Linked DNA regions of Homo sapiens: region 2 is linked to region 1. Evidence: promoter capture Hi-C in 16 types of primary human blood cells and fetal thymus (Javierre and others, 2016). All regions are on one chromosome and are shown on one strand. Each heading gives the region's core, a stretch centred on a gene start or on the middle of the fragment in contact. The rest is flanking DNA. Distances are from core to core; before and after follow the strand shown.

What was found. The method cuts DNA at HindIII sites, captures the fragments that hold promoters and counts their contacts. A CHiCAGO score of 5 or more calls a contact.
Region 2: a contact is called between the fragment with the promoter of FARP1 here and the fragment with the promoter of DOCK9-AS1 in region 1, in 1 of 17 cell types (M2 macrophages). The highest score is 5.5, in M2 macrophages.

What each region holds. Positions count from the first base shown.
Region 1 is chr13:98,830,648-98,833,350 of GRCh38, reverse strand. It overlaps DOCK9-AS1 (DOCK9 antisense RNA 1), which reads right to left and starts at 1,267. Exons shown (of 3, transcript NR_046663.1): 1 at 1,208-1,267; 2 at 275-352. DOCK9 (dedicator of cytokinesis 9) reads left to right here. Exons shown (of 53, transcript NM_001366683.2): 40 at 1,565-1,702; 41 at 1,821-2,003. The HindIII fragment of the contact is 4,269 bases long and covers 1-2,703 here.
Region 2 is chr13:98,141,777-98,144,476 of GRCh38, reverse strand. It overlaps FARP1 (FERM, ARH/RhoGEF and pleckstrin domain protein 1), which reads right to left and starts at 1,383. Exons shown (of 27, transcript NM_005766.4): 1 at 985-1,383. It overlaps LOC105370328 (a long non-coding RNA gene), which reads left to right and starts at 567. Exons shown (of 3, transcript XR_931670.4): 1 at 567-638. RefSeq lists silencers at 1,333-1,642, 1,883-1,932. The HindIII fragment of the contact is 2,199 bases long and covers 1-1,920 here.

The sequences.
Region 1 (2,703 bases), core at 18-2,517:
AAACCTTAATCCAGTCATAATTAGGAATGTAAATTCATTGGAGGAAAGCAAGGCTTTCAAACTACAGCTCCTGAGAAAATGGCATTCATAGATAAAACTTGTAAGCAGTTCCCCAAACACTGGAAATCTTTTTTTTTTTTTTTTTTGGTTGAGAATTAGATCATGGTTGAGAACTAATTCTCATGGTTGAGAATTAGATCATATTCATTTAATTAGTCCCACTTTCTGCTCATTAAATTGCTCCCCTTTCACATGACGGAATTCAATATGGTACCTTAGTATTTCATGATAGAAAGATCACTGTGAATTCCAGGTGTTCTGCCAGCTGTGATAGATTCACAATTCACTGGACCTAAAAAAAAACAAAAACTTACTCCTTGAGGAAAAATTTCCCTCCAACAACAAGACAAGGTAGATCTTGCTCTGAAACTATGACCGCAACCATAATTTGCTATGTAGCAAAATTATATGGACATAAGTTACCCCTGTTCCGTTGGCCAAATTGTAAGATTGGTTTGAGATACTGGCCTCTTGACATTTTTTTTTATTAATGTCAAATCTGCCTACTTGTGCAGAATGCACACACCTATCGTTCCCCAACAGAGCTTTGTTCAGACAGCTTGTCTGTATTGGAAGGTGGTGGTGTGTCATTTAGTGTTGTGCACATTAGACACGAAGTTCATCCTGGCTGCTTGCTGGGCCACACCTCTAGCTGCTGTGTATATTCTACAGTTGATGGGAGTTGTAGCCAACCAGGCTTCCAAAGTGTTTAATTTGTGTGAATTTTCTACTGACATGAGGAAATCTTGAATGACTAGAAGCAAATTGTAGTCTTCTTGTTTTCTTTGATAAGTAAAATCCACGAATGTCAAAACCCTACTAGATGCCACCTACTGAGCTAGACCAAAGTATGCGTCAGATGGTTTCTACACTTGATCTCATGTCTTCACAGTCGCTGTTCAAGGTCAGTTTTAGGGTCATCATTTTACAGATGAGGATGCTGAGACTCAGTTTACCTGTGCAAATTCATGCCTATGATAAGTGGTACCTGACCAAAGCCTGTACACTTTCCACCTTACCAAACTCTCTGATTATTCATAGCTTAGCAGAGTGCCTTAGAGGCCTGGGGAGATCACTTTTCCCTTTTCGAAGACCTGTTTCATATACCTTACTTGAGTACTTTTTCCCATCTATAATTATCGCATACCTGTGATGGCACTTCTCTGTTGGAATTAAGATGTCACAAATGGCACCTCTGTATCAGCTGCTGGTGGACAGTAAAAATGAGTACATATTAATAAATAGAAGCCCAGTCAGTACTAAGCAAGTGTTCCTTTCAACTCTGTTAGTTTGCTGGGAGGTTCATCCCCAAAACATAAATGTATTGATAGATTTGCTTGTTCTACAAAAGAATTCTGTACTTTCCTAGAGGATTCAAGGCAGAGTTTGTTTAAAGTATAAGTTGTCTTAATACTTAGAAAATGTAATTCTTGAGCCTGAAATTGTGTGAAACCTACTAGAGGTGACTGGTATGTCTAACAAAGCCGTCAATGTGTGTTTTAAGAACCAGCTCCTGGCCGACCATGGACATAATCCTCTCATGAAAAAAGTTTTTGATGTCTACCTGTGTTTTCTTCAAAAACATCAGTCTGAAACGGCTTTAAAAAATGTCTTCACTGCCTTAAGGTCCTTAATTTATAAGGTAAGTTGCTTCATGGGCAGTGGTTAGATGTTTTCCTTCTTCCCCCGGAATTGAAGGGTACATTACCGAGCACTGACCTGTCTGTGGTTTATCTGCTGCTTCCTCTCATCCTGTCTAGTTTCCCTCAACATTCTATGAAGGGAGAGCGGACATGTGTGCGGCTCTGTGTTACGAGATTCTCAAGTGCTGTAACTCCAAGCTGAGCTCCATCAGGACGGAGGCCTCCCAGCTGCTCTACTTCCTGATGAGGAACAACTTTGATTACACTGGAAAGAAGTCCTTTGTCCGGACACATTTGCAAGTGCGTGTGGTTTAGCTTTCCAATACAGATTTACTCTGTAGAATCCTGCTGTATCAGGAAAACTTTGAGTATCACATTAACCAATTTACCTTGTCATAAAGATACTGCAAGATCTGGAAAACTGGGAAGCCACGTTTGCTGGCTTGGTTTATTTCATGTTCCATTACTATAAGATATGGGCCTGAGATGCGTTTCTGTTGGTAAATTGACATTTAAATATTGAATCAATATTGGACTGACTAAAATTCCATTGAATCAAGAAGTGTTAGAACCTATGTGAGGATGCTTAATAGTAAACATTTTAGGTAAGGAACAAGAAGCCCAACCTAAGTGGTTCTTTTCTGTCCTCTATCTGCTGACACATCTGCTATCTCTGCAGAATTAAAGCATCCTAAATTCTCTGCTCTGAGAGCCAGCCAAGATAATGACCAAACTTGTGTATTTTTGTAAACTCTCTTTTTCTACAAACACATGGTAGGTGTCCCTTTTCCATCTCTGTATTTAACCCTTTTTTTAAAAAACAATATTTATTGTCCACATAGGATTCGTGGATACAACCATGAACAAAACAACCCTCTCCCAGCCCTCATGGAGTGTAGTCTAATGGAGGTCACAGACAAGCTCTGGAACTCTGAGAGTACAAGTGTGACCACTGTTATTGTAGAGGAACTTGAGTGTATCAGGAGGGGCACCTAGAGGA
Region 2 (2,700 bases), core at 134-2,633, 690 kb after region 1:
GAGGCCACCGGTACTCCCCAGGGCTGGGAGAGACAGGGAGGCCGAGGCTGCTAAACTGTTCCAGATGACAAGCAGGCTCTCCCACGTCTCCACGAACTGATCAGATACCAGGGCCTCGCTTCTTTGTGAGCCTCAGCTCCCTCCTTTCTGGGGAACCCTACTCGATCCCCAACAGCCGCTGGCCTCCAGCTGCCACAAACGAGATCCAGACTCATTACAGGGAATTCGTATTTCCCCCCCTCAAATAAAACACACACACACACACACACACACAGAGTCTCCGGGGTCCAGCCGGATCACACAGCTAAAGTTTCCGGAACTTGAATCGTAAAACCACAATCAGAAGTTGTTTGGAAATACTCGCCGCAAAGCAATCTGTCCTTTGCTTTAAAAAATAAAAAATAAAAAAAACTTTGCCCTGCATAAAGGCAGACAGTAAAGAGAGACACAAATCTAACTTGGGCAGAGGGTGTGTTCCTCTTTGTCACCCGCCGGGAACCCTCGCGCCGCGCGTGGGCGAGCGGCGGGCACCCGGCGGCATCCGCGCCAGCGGCCACCTCCCCGGCCCGCAACCGGCCTCAGGGGCCGAGATTGCGGCCCGAGGTCCGGAAGCGGCGTCCAGCGCTGTCAGCGGGCGGGTAGGACGGAAGGAAACGGGGGAAGGGCGCCGGGGTCGGGGGAGGCGAGCGGGGACCGGCGCGGAGCCCCGCAGCCCGACGTCGGCGGAGGTGAGGGGAGAGGGGCGCAGGGGGCAGCCCGGAGCCCCGAGGCCCCCGAGCTCCTGCGATGGTGGCCGGGGCTGCCCGGGCCCGACCCGCCGCCCGACTGCGCAGGGCAGGACCTCGGGGACCACGCGCCCACCTTCGCCCGCAGCCGCGGCCGTGCGCTGCGGGAGCCTGGACTCGCACAAGTTGCCGCCCGCGGCCCGGACCCCGCCGGCCCCCGCCCTCCCGCCGCGGTCATTGTTCACCGCGCGCCTCCTACCTCCACAGCGCCGGCGGCTGCGGCGGCTCCCTCTCCCGGCTCGGGCTCCGGGATCGGCGGCTCCCAAGCCCCCGGCGGCCGAGGGCGCGGCGGCGCCGGCTATTAATACCCGCGGGCGGCGGCGGCGCGGGCGCGCGAGCAGGGCTGGCGGTGGCCGGCTGAGGTCCGAGCCATCAAAGGTGGCGCGGGGCGGAGGGGAGGGCGGAGCAGGCGGGGTGGGTGGGGAGCGGGCTCCGGGTCGCCATGGCCGCCTCGACGCCGGGGCCAGCGCTACTCGCGCAGGGAGGAGCGGCGCAAAGCGGGCAGCGGCCGCGTCCCCGCCCCGCGCCCCAGCCGAGCGCCCGCACCGCTGCGCCCGCGCCGGACCCGCCGCCTCTGAGGCCGGCGAGCGGGAAGTGCAGTGGCCACCGCCCCTCCCCGGGTCTGGGCCGGCCCCTCGGCGGGGGGAGGCGGGCGCCGCGCAGCCCGAGCAGCGGGGACGCGGGAGAGCCACAGCCCCCTCCAGCGTCCGGGCCCGCGCCCTGCGCCCGCCCCGCCCCGCTCCGCTCCGCCCGGGCAGGTGCGCCCAGGGGCCTCCCGAGCCCAGCGCGCCGCCGGGGATCTGCGCCTCTCTTGGGCTTCCGGCCAGGGCCGGGCTCCGCGCGGCGCTACCTAATGCAGCGCGGGGAGCGCCACTGGCGAGACGCGAATCCAGCAGCTGTGGCGAAAAACGAACCGGGGAGAGCGGGAGACGTGTGCACGGCGAAGCCGGGAGCGGCAGGCGGGCGGTCAGGGGCTCGGACTCTGCAGGTCGCTTTTTGAGGTCCTGCCTGGGGCTGCTTCGCCTGCGACGTCGCGCGGGGAGGACAGTCTTCAGGGACCCACCGAGCCCTCCCCTCCCCCGGAGCCACAGGCACGGGCTTCCGGCACCACCCCGGGCTGCGCGGGACTTAAGCTTGGGGGAGCGGCGGCCACCCCGCGCCCGCCCACGTCCTGGCCCAGCGCCCTCCGCCCGAGCGAATCCCATGACAGTTCCCGCCCGCCCAGCCTCGGGGGACAGTGCCCTTGGGGAATGGCGTGGGGGAGGTTAGGAGTGGCTTGCGGTGCTTGAGAGCCTTCGGGGTTTCGGGAACTCTACGGAGCGGGGAGCAAGATTCAGGACCCAGGAGGCAGCGATCTAGGGGCACAGTCACCGTCCCCACCCAGCAGCTGCCGCGTTACCTTCTCTTCCCCCTTCTGAGCCTCCAGTCCCTCTCTCTAAGCGTGGCGGGAAGAGGCCTAGGGCGCAGCAAGTGACGTTCTGCCAGACCCGGGGCTAGCGGATTCCGGCCTTCGGAGGCCACTGGCTCAGAACCGTGGGCCTTTTGCGTCTTACAGGAGTTCCCTGACCTCAGACCGAGAGGGCAGATTTCACGGGAGAGGCCTCAAGTGAACTCACAGCTGGACAGGAGCTGGGCAGAAGTGGAGTGTAGGGACCCTGATAGAAGGGCGGGTTGAGACAAGAACAGGGGTCTTGGAAGTAGGGGGTGCTTGTGGGCAGCTCCTGGGGAGGAGCAGAGATGTAATACTTGCAGATTTGGTGGTCTGTGGTTGAAGAGAAGAAATGGTGGGTTTGAGGCTTTGCTCTGTCAGCCCAACCAGCTGTGTGTCACAGATCAGATTTTTTTCTGCTCGTGATTCTCTAAGTGTGGTTCTCAGACCACGACCACCACCAGCAGCCCCTGGAAACGTCAAGAA